Regions from separate parts of the Homo sapiens genome. Here region 2 is linked to region 1. The links are contacts of gene promoters, found by promoter capture Hi-C in blood cells and fetal thymus (Javierre and others, 2016). All regions are on one chromosome and are shown on one strand. Each heading gives the region's core, a stretch centred on a gene start or on the middle of the fragment in contact. The rest is flanking DNA. Distances are from core to core; before and after follow the strand shown.

Region 1 (5,171 bases), core at 809-3,308:
GCTGTCTACTGCCTACTTGCCATTTCTTTTTCAATGTCTAATAGGCACCTAAGACTATGTGCAAAGGCAAACTCTTGCTGATTTTCCCCTTCCAAGGTCATCCCCATCTCAGATGACAACTCTAGTTGCTTAAGCTAAAAACCTTGGTATCATCCTTCATTCCTCTTCTCTCACACCCTGCAATCCAAAGTACTAGCAAATTTTAACTCATTCCTTTTTTTCTGAGACGGGTCTCACTCTTTTTGCCCAGGCTGGAAGGCAGTGGCGCAATCGGCTCACTGCAACCTCCGCCTGCTGGGTTCAAGCGATTCTCCTGCTTCAGCCTCCGGAGTAGCTGGGATTACAGGCATGCACTGCCATGCCCGGCTAATTTTTGTATTTTTAGTAAAGATGGGATTTCACCATGTTGGCCAGGCTGGTCTTGAACTCCTGACCTCAGGTGATCCACCCACCTCTGGTCTCCCAAAGTGCTGGGATTACAGGTGTGAGCCACCATGCCCGGCCCTTAACTCATTCTTTAAAAATGAGTTTTTAAAACCTTTGCTTAGAAGAATCTAAACACTTCTAATTCCATTGTTTCCAATCTAGATCAATTCACTACCATCTCTAAATTACTGCAGAAACTTTCTGACTGCAGAAGGTCTTCCCATTTCTTCTCTTGCCACCCCTCCGCAACTCTATTCACCATACAGCAGCCTGAGTGAGCCTTTTAAAACAGGTCATTCCTCTGCTCAAACCCTCCAATGACTTCCTATTTCATGTCATGGAAGTCACTGAAGGGTTTTGAGTGGAGGAATTACCTAAGGTAATTCCTGACCACCTGATGTAACACTCTGACCTCCATCCTGAACATTCTCCATTCCTTTCTCTGCTTTAGCTTTCTCCGTGGCACTTATATTTTGTTTACTGTAGGCCTCCCACTGAGATGATTTTTTCCTCTTGCTCAAGGATGTACCCTGAGCCCCAAACTGTGTGGCACACAGTAGGTCCTCATTAAGTATTTGTTAAGAATGAATGGATAAACTCCCCCCAGTCTCTCTTATAGGGAAGGGGCAGAAGCAGAGTGGCAGCTGCTGATCCCTAGGGGCTAGAGATGCAATATTGCCCGAAGTATTTCTCTGCAGGGCTGTCCTCCCTGGGGAACCCTCCCTTGCCTTCCAGTGTGTGGGACTTGGCTTTCATCAGCAGTAGAGCCTCAGGTCAGAAGGCTGCAGAGCCAAACGGGGCTGGCCTGATGCAATGGTTACACAGAGATTAGCTGGGAGACAGGACCGGGTTAAAGAGGCAGGGACTAATCCCGAGGGAAGGACAATACCCTGGGGAGACCCCAAATGGCCTCCTACACTTAAGAGATCCAGGCTGCTCTCTTGTGCAGGAGGCCCAGAGACCTCTACGGCAAAAGGAAAACACACCACTCCCTGTCCATCGGCACCCCTCCCAAAGGCTTGTGTCTCCTCAAGGTTCCCCTATCCGCTGCAGGGTCCAGTAGCCCCAGCTACCAAGGTGGCCATGCTGACACCAGAGGCACTGAGACTGAGACAGAATTGGGGGTGGGGTAGGGAGAAGGCCCGCTGGTGGCGAAGCGGCGGAAACGGCCTGAGCGATGGTCACCCAGTCTTAGAGCGGGGGTGTGTCCTGCTGACCTGCCTCCCCGCGGACAGGCCTAACGATGAGGCCTGAAGTTGGCTACGGGAAAGAATGAATTTCCCAAGGGCAACCGAGGTCCCTTTGCCCAGCAGCACAGAGCAGGGCCCGTGTTCCGGCTCCGGGCAGGGGTGGAGAGACGCCGTCGTCCGAAGCAATAGGGGTTTGTAAGCACCACCCCAGAATAAGGGACTCTCCCCATTCCTCTCTCGGACGGTCCCTAACTTCACTGTGGAGGAGTGAGGCCGATCCTAAAGAGCGGACGCCCCAACTTTGAGGAGACGGGAGGGTAAAAGGTAGATGGGAATCAGTACTCGCCTCTCTCCTCAGGTTCCAGCTCTGATTTTGGCTCTGTCGCTGCCACCCGCTCATCTTTAACATGATACGCTCAGTGCCTTAGACTTAAGTCTCTGACCTCGGGAGCGCCTGGCTGTAATCTTTTACCATGGCCTTGCCCTCCTCTCAGGGGCGGGACCCCAAAACCTACCAATCAGAAAGTGGCACGCCGGCATTGGCCCCGCCCCGTCCCTCGCATCCGCCACTCAGGAGCCCCGCGGCACCGCCCCCGTCGCTCCCTCTCGCTAGGGGGTCGACGTAGTGTCGGACCCGGAAGTGGCTTTGGGTCACGAGGCTTCACGGAGGAGGTGGGTGAGTCATGCGCGCGCGCGGAGGGGAGTGTAGCGGGGGGGGAGGGGAGGAAAGGGGGGCGGGGATGATGCAATGTTTGGCAACCGGTGTCTGCACGCGCACGCGCAGGGGACACCGAGGGTGGTGGGAGGTGCGGAGGGTGGGGGAGAGGAGAGAGGGCGGGGCGCCAGCTCCCGGCGCCCAACGGCCCCAACGGCTATCAGCCTTGGTCGCCCCTAGTCGGTCGTGAGCCTCTTTGCCGCTTGTCTCCCCCAGAAGCTGCTGTTCCGCCCACCTAGCTTTACCCGCCGTTTTACCCCCACTATAAGGGACTCCCATATTTCTTGGCCCCTCCCAGCTAATGGGCACATAGGCCTTTTGAACTTTTCTTTTTAAAGTTGGTATCCATCCACTGGGATTGTCGACATCTCGAGTCTTCTTAAAGAGGTCTCCTGGCCGGGCTCAGTGGCTTACGCCTGTAATCCCAGCACTTTGGGAGGCTGAGGAGAGCGGATCACTTGAGGTCAGGAGTTCGAGATCAGCCTGACCAACATGGTGAAACCCCGTCTCTACTAAAAATACAAAAATTAGCCGGGTGTGGTGATGCGCGCCTGTAATCCCAGCTACTCTGGAGGCAGAGGCAGAAGAATCGCTTGAACCCTGGAGGCGGATGTTGCAGTGACCGAGATCGCGCCACTGCACTCCAGCCTGGGTGACAGAGCGAGACTACGTTTCACCAAAAACAAAAAACAAAACAAACAAACAAAAAAACGGGGGTGGTCTCCTGTTCTAGCCCCGTAAATCTCCCAAAAGGGGCCGAGGTACTGGAATCCCTTGGTAGTCATTTTCCGCTTCTCTCAGAACAGCGCCCTTGACTTTTACCTTGTAGTTGGTAAGCCCTCAGCCTGCCAGAAGTCATGTATTTTGCCCAGTGGACCCGATTCTGTTTGGCCACCTATTTTCCCCCACGGTACTCCTATGGCTTTCTCCAAGACCCTCTCTTGCTGTACCAGACAGCAAGTCCTGTGACTCCCTGTGTGAGGAGCGCGGCACAGGCCTGCCTCCTAGGTGTTCGGGTCGAGATTTACAGCGGAGTCTCATCCCGGGACGTGTGAGTGCACTTCAGCGCAGGACTGCCCTGGACTGGGGAGACCGGAGCCGCGATTTTAGACTCAACTCCCCATCACTTGCCAAGGGATCTTACCGTCCTTGTTTGTAAATTAAAGATAAAAGTTGTGAAGGTAAAATGAGAACCATGAACTTGGAGGCAACTTGACCAAAAGTAAAACGCACCACCCAGAATGCAAAGTATTTTTCTTGTGCCTTGAAAACAGAGGCCATGTGGTGGCCTGTTACATATCCTGTCATACCCTCATGGGGGCAGCCAGAGTTTAAGTAGAAACTGTCACAAGGCCGGTTGTGACTGGAGTGGTGTGGCAATGACAGGTCTTTGGTTAGGCTGCTCCGCTGCTCCACACCTCCATTTCCTCTCTGAAAATGGGGGTAGTGTGGAGGGTGGACCAGATGGTCTCCCCTGGCCTAAAGACAGACCAGGTTGTCAGTGACAGGCAGAGGTCATGTGACTTGACAGGCTGAGGTCGTGTTGTGACATGTTGACCTGGGGAGGCGGGTCAAGTCCCAGCACACTACCCGGGAAGCCTTTGGGGCGGGGCAGGGCAAGTCGCGACTTTCATCTTTCGGGGCCTGGCCCCTCCCGGACCTGGCATTCCTGGTTCCCGCAACAGACTGTGGCTTTGGAAGGGGCCCCTCCCTGAGGAGGGCTGGGATTGGCCACCAGTGGCCTGGGAAGAGGCGCAGATCCTTCCGCGGAGGGCGGGGGGGCCGCGTGGGGTGTTTGTTCTCTTGGGGATTAATGGGGGGTTGTGGGGGAGGGGTAGGCGCGCTCCCGCATGCGCACTGCAGCCCCTCCAGTTGGCTCGTCGCTGTCCGCTGGGCGGGGGCCCGGCCCCGCCCCTCTCCCGTCCGGGCAGCGGCGGAGGCGGCGGCTCCTGCGGCGGCGGCTGCGGCAGCGACGGCGGCGGCGGCAGCGGCAGCAGCCTGCGCAGTGCCTTCTGGGAACGGAATCCCCAGGGCTGCCCCTGGCCCCCATGGCGCATGCGCGGGAGGCCGCTCGGTGATCCGCGGCGGCGGCAGCGGCGCTTCCTGCTAGGACCGGCCGGGGCCGTACCGGAGGCTCGGGCTCCACCGACCCTCCTCCCACCCCCTCCCACTCACCCTCTGGGCCGCGACTGCGCAGGGCGGGGCCGGCCGAACCATGGGCCGCGGTGAGTGCGGGGCCCGGCCCCCCCCACCCTGCCCCTCCCCCTCCCGTCCCTACCCTCTGCCCCCTCCGCGTCCTCTCGGCCCCTTTCCCCGGCCCCATCCCCACTCCCCCGCCCTCACCTGCCCCCGCCGCTTCTCCCTCTCACTGCCAGACTTCTGCCTTCCTCACCGCCCTCCCCTCAGTGCTTCGCCCACCCTCCGCCCGCCCTCTCCCCAAGTTCCTTCCTACTTCGTGCGCCTTCCCCTCCTCCTCAAGCTGAGGGAAGCAGTCTGGGTGACAGGGCGCCTTGTTGTGAGAGGGAAAGTTTGGAAGCCGCCAGTGTGGGGTGGGAGCAATGGTGAGGCTGGGGAGGATACCTGCAGGTTGGAGGGGCTTCCCCTTCTATCGGAGGACAGGCTCTCTTGGAGATAATCGGAAGCCAGTGGAATAGGAGGTTCTGAATCCCTTTGCCGTAGGCTTGAGGGAAAATCAGGAGCTTCCCAGGATCCTGGGAGAAGACTGAGCTGTGATCCTCACCTCTTAAGACCCGAATGAACTATATCAGCGATTGTCTGATGGAGCAGGCATGGGGGGAGTTCTGCTGGTACCACCCCAGCGGGCAGTTGGGCAATTGCCT
Region 2 (5,171 bases), core at 2,672-5,171, 1.2 Mb before region 1:
ACATGCCACCATGCACTGCTAACTTTTGCATTTTTTTGTAGAGTTGGTGTTTTGCCATGATGCCCAGGCTAGCACTGTAATCTTAACACTGCCTTATATATTGCTTATTAGATACACCTTTGTGTACATGTGTGTTGTTTTCGATTAAAATTTCCTAATTATGAGGATAAGACCTTTTATTCTTATTTCTGTTTTTTCATTTTTTATTTTTAGCTCCGACTCAGATTTTGAACGGATGTTTGCATGTATACCACAGTGCTACATTAAAAACCAGTCATGTGGATGTGGAGAAGGGTGCTGATCAGGACTCCCTGTTTGCTAACAAATTCTACAGCAGAAACAAAGTATTAAGGTTTGCAGCCAGGAAGCAAGTGCATGGGGAATAAGCCTGCAGCTTCTTCCAAATGAGACAGAGCCAAATCTTTTTTCTGAGTCTGTTTTCTTCATTTCTATTAAACCAAGGTCCTTTTTAAGCAGTCGAATTTCATCCAAAGCCAGAGTGAGCTACTTTGTTTGGGGGAACAGTAACAGTTACCTCCACCACTGACTGGCTGCCATCTGGATTGATCCGGAAAGATCCCATCTGAATGGTCTTCTTGGGGTCCACCTGGGCAATTTCCCATTCTAGTTCATCCACCAGAGCCCTGCATGCTGGTGGAAGAGGAGAGAATGAGAGCAGGGGACAGGGTAGGGGGTAGGGTGTGAGGAGAATGGGATCAACCCAGGATTTCCATTCATCCTTCTCCCAGGCCTTGGATCTCATGCCCTCCCAAGGCTCTGCTTCCTCCACTTCTTTTTCCCGTTGTGCCTTTACCTCCACAGTGGAGATCCTGGCTCCTCCGAGCCCAGGCGGTTCCCAGCAGGGCCCCCAGAAGCAGGGCCAGCCAACCCCAGCCTTTCATCTTTAGCGTAATGGGGTCGCTCCACCTGGGTTTGAGTGGGAATAAAACATAAGTGTGAGGAGCCGACTCCATTTTTCCCTGACCCCCCCAATCCTCACCCCAAGGCTTTCAAAGGCCTCATTGTGACTCTGGCTCTACTTTCCAGGAAATGGCCGGGACACAAAGGGGCTTCTCTGTTCCAGCGCTTGAGGGCTCTGATTCCCCCAGGGTGGTGGGTGGGAGCGCGAGCTCAGGACTTGCGGCTCAGCCCCAGACTCTACGTGGATAGGTGAGGCCCTAAGTGTTGGTACTTTAGCACTGCATGCCTAGGGTTCACGGGGCTTTGTGGCAGCTACAGGAGGTAAGTTGGCGATTACGTGAGGACTACAGGCACTAGGGAACTGCCGGCAGGGAGCCCTCAGTCAGGCCAGGAGGCCAGCGAGGAGAGCAATAACTAGGGCCCATTTGGATCCTGCACCGAAGATTCCTGCGTCCCCACCTCCAGCCCGTAAGTGATTACCCGTACGGACACCAGCCCCCTTTCTAAGGACTCCGCCATTGCTTTCGCTTCAGTCCATCCCCAACCCTCAGCGCCCAGCGCCTCGCCGCCCGCATCCGTCCCACCTCTGCTCCCAGGGCCGCCGCCGTGGCCCAAGCGCTGGAAGACCGCTGGACTCTCACTTTGGCCCCAGTGGCTCCCGAAACTACACCTGGCTGCAGGGAGCAGGGCTGTCCGGGATTCTCCAGAGCGCTTCGCCGCCTGCCACACACGGGGTGTCCCGGCGACCGCCTGACCCAGCTCCCCTGACGCTAACTGGTACCTAAGCGGGACTCCAGCGTGCTGCGGTGCGAGCCCCAATCAGACACCGACCCCAAACCCGCCCCTCCAAACTCTCGCGCGAACAGGCAGCTTAGGAGAGGCTCCCGAACAGCAAGGACCCCGGTCAATCGCCGAAGGACCCAGACTTGCGTGGCGAACAGATCCACGTGACCACCAGGGGTCAGCCGTAGAATAGGAGTGGCCTTAAGCGACGACAGAGTCCGGGCGTGCTGTATGGGAGCGGCTAGTCGTGCGCGTGAGCCAGCCCAGGTGGGCTAGGACCTTCAAAACGGTGCGCTGCCGGCCAGCGAGCAGTCCAGGTTTCAATACACAGGAAACTACATCTCCCAGGAAGCACCGCAGCACCGGACCCATCTTTGTGAGCAACTACAAGTCTCAAGCTATCCTGGGACCTGTAGTTTGTCGGCTTACACAATTAACGGAAACCATACTGTACATCTTCAGTCTGACTTAGGGTACTGGGCAGCTATAGCAAAGACCCAGCATTGCCCAGAAAAGGCATAAATTATACCTTTTTCCCCTTTTTTTGAGACGGAGTCTCGCCCTATCGCCCAGGCTGGCATACAGTGGCGTGATCTCGGCTCACTGCAACCTCCGCCTCCCGGGTTGAAGCAATTTTCTGCCTCAGCTAGGGTTACAGTCGCCATCCACCACTCCCAGCTAATTTTTGTATTTTTAGTAGAGACGGGGTTTCACCATCTTGGTCAGGCTGGTCTTTAACTCCTGACCTCGTGTTCCACCCACCTCTGCCTCCCAAAGTGCTAGGATTACAGAAGTGAGCCACCGCGCCCGGCCTAATTATACCCTTTCATATCCATAACTTTGGATTCCGGACCTTTACCTTCAAAGGAAGGAGAGGAAGACTGAAGCCAGAGAACCCACACTAGCAGTTCTCTAATGAGATAAATAACAAACGATATTTTATTTTTATTTTATAAAACATGCAGTTTACAACAAATTTTTAAAAAATGGAACAAAACTTGGGACAGGCAAGTGGGATGGAAGACAGATGCTTCTCAGCCATCAGCAGGAATAAATGAAGCCGGCAGCCAAGCTTTGTCCAGGATCCAAAGGCCCTTTTGGCAATGGTATTGGCAACACTGGTTTGCTTGGGCCACCAACACTCTACTTGCTGGCCCCTCCAGGTATCCCTGAAGCAGTTGGTGACTTGTGCTAAGTCTTGAACTACTGTGGTATCCTCTGTCACTGTCCAGGACTTCAATCCCTAGCCAGCTAGGAACTTACAGTTATGGTTCCAGGAGCTTCTCTGCCTGGATATTAGTCACCCAGGATATTAAGAATACCAATTACTTTCCATCTGGGTCAATTCTAGACTCCATGTCTGTACCACTGTTTTGCAAAGAATGAAGAAGGAATGAATCTGGCTCCTAGAACCTTTGCAACAATTCTGCTGTGTTCCAGTTCAATTAATAGCACCATCTGTGACCCTAGACCCTGAGCACGTCCAGTACTGGAAGTGGACAAGGTATAGCCAACTTAGGAAGCCATCTCCCAGTTCTGGGGCTATAGAACAGTAAAGGGAGAGGGCCGTGGTTCTTTGGGAAGGGTAGTCAGAGCGCCAGCACTGAGGAGAAGACAGCTGCATCTGTCAGAGACAAAACCAAAAGCATGATTCAAGCTGAGTGGAGAAAAAGCATCTTCTCATACTTCCTATGAAGGAAAAATGCAAGAGAAAAAAGGGCATGGACCTTCCCTGAACATTTTAGACTTGGGCAAGAGGAAGTTATAGTTAATGGAGAGTTTCGATAAAATGTATTTTACTGAATGTTAGGAGGATGAAGTGCTTTGTAAACTGTTAAGTGCTATTCTCCATATGTGCAATCAAAATCCACCCAATTGGGGGCGCTCAGGCTCATGCCTGTAATCCCAGCACTTTGTGAGCCCAAGGTGGGTGGATCGCTTGAGCCCAGGAGTTTAAGACCAGCCTGGGCAACATGGCAAAATCCTGTTTCTACAAAAAGTACAAAAATTAGCTGGGTGTGGTGGTGTGTGCCTGTTGTCCCAGGTACTTGGGAGGCTGAGGTGGGAGAATCACTTGAGCCCAGGAAGTCGAGGCTGCAGTGAGCTGTAATCACGCTACTGCACTTCAGCCTGGGTGACAGAGTGAGACCCTGTCACAAACAAACAAAATACAAAATCCACCCAGTCCAGTTTCCCTTGTCCCATCCCAGGTCTTACTCTTGGGACTTGTTTGGCCCTCAGGCTCAGGCACCTTCCAGTCCATCTTTCTGCCCTTCTCATAAAGACCCTTGAGCACCTTGTGGAAAGACTCAGGCTCAGTGCCATTTTTGCTTAGCTCCAGATACTTTCGGTACAGCTGAAGGGCTGTGCGGGCATCCTCAATACTGTCATGGGTTTCCCCTTGAATCTTCAGGTCTGGGGTAAGTAAAGGTGGAATAGTTTGGGACCCAGCAAAGGGAGGTAGGAACATGTCTCCCCACTCCTACCTGACTCCAGAAAACTAAAAAGCCTGACTGCCCTTAAGGAAAATTGTCAGACATCTTCCTCAGTGCACAGAAGGGATATTGAAGTTAATTAAATCCATTAGTAACTGTCACCACTAACTGAGGGTCTCCCCTACTCCCATTTTGTCCTCTAACACTTTTCCTACTTTTTCTTTTCCCCCCATGCTTTTATTTTTTATATTTAAATTTTATTTTAGATTTGGGGTACATGTGCATGTTTGTTACATGGGTGTATCGTGTACTGGTGGGGACTGGGCTTCTGGTATCCCTAATATGCAAATAGTGAACTATGCACCCAATACGTAATTTTCAACCCTCACCCCTCACCCACCACCCCAACTTTTAGAGTCCCTAATGTCATTCTTATGTCCATATGTACTCATTGTTTAGTTCCAACTTATAAGTGAGAATATGTGGTATTTGATTTTCTGTTTCTGAGTTAGTTCACTTAGTATGATGGCCCACAGCTCCATCCATGTTGCCGCAAAGAACATGATTTCTTTTTTTTTAAATGGCTGCTTCTGCTATTAATGTAGCAGGGGCCTACAAGGCAGAGCAACTCACCCAGAAAGTACCAAGCAAGGAATCGCAGGGAAATCATTCGTTTTCGGGGCATATGGAACAGGTAGACAGTGTCAAGGACTTGGTCCTTGGGCACCTGGCAAGGATAAAAGAGGGGGAGACTTAAGGTAGGGGACCTATAATTCCCCATTCTCTAAAGGCACAATGTATACCCTGAGGGGCCCACTCTCACAAGAAGACTCTTAAAAGAGCCCTGCCAAACCATCAGGTTGATGACCCGGAAGTCCTTCTGCAGGCCATGACCCACAAACTTGACTCCAATGTCAATGAGAAAACGAAGCTTTAAGTAGGTAGACTTGAGAGTTGTTAGGTGCTTGGAGGAAATTTTGGCATCGAGGTCACCAGGCTTTATACCCGAGTATTGAGTCAAGTAATCCACCA

Evidence for each region. The method cuts DNA at HindIII sites, captures the fragments that hold promoters and counts their contacts. A CHiCAGO score of 5 or more calls a contact.
Region 2: a contact is called between a fragment that was not itself captured here and the fragment with the promoter of DDIT3 in region 1, in 1 of 17 cell types (monocytes). The highest score is 5.4, in monocytes.

The regions. Positions count from the first base shown.
Region 1 is chr12:57,518,456-57,523,626 of GRCh38, forward strand. It overlaps DDIT3 (DNA damage inducible transcript 3), which reads right to left and starts at 2,059. Exons shown (of 4, transcript NM_004083.6): 1 at 1,963-2,059. It overlaps LOC128125814, which reads right to left and starts at 2,025. Exons shown (of 2, transcript NM_001414991.1): 1 at 1,963-2,025. The coding sequence starts at 2,025. MBD6 (methyl-CpG binding domain protein 6) reads left to right here and starts at 4,369. Exons shown (of 13, transcript NM_052897.4): 1 at 4,369-4,556. MIR616 (microRNA 616) reads right to left here and starts at 804; the gene lies at 708-804. RefSeq lists enhancers at 895-1,856, 1,827-1,956, 1,831-3,030, 1,857-2,816, 2,817-3,777 and 4 more and silencers at 2,027-2,486, 4,201-4,600. The HindIII fragment of the contact is 9,909 bases long and covers 1-5,171 here.
Region 2 is chr12:56,314,316-56,319,486 of GRCh38, forward strand. It overlaps PAN2 (poly(A) specific ribonuclease subunit PAN2), which reads right to left. Exons shown (of 26, transcript NM_014871.6): 23 at 4,993-5,171; 24 at 4,773-4,866; 25 at 3,922-4,119; 26 at 2,621-3,328. The coding sequence ends at 3,294. It overlaps CNPY2 (canopy FGF signaling regulator 2), which reads right to left and starts at 1,673. Exons shown (of 6, transcript NM_014255.7): 1 at 1,506-1,673; 2 at 815-927; 3 at 536-651. The coding sequence starts at 902. CNPY2-AS1 (CNPY2 antisense RNA 1) reads left to right here. Exons shown (of 2, transcript XR_002957416.2): 2 at 214-493. RefSeq lists enhancers at 1,658-2,246, 1,747-1,796, 1,877-2,026. The HindIII fragment of the contact is 2,294 bases long and covers 2,775-5,068 here.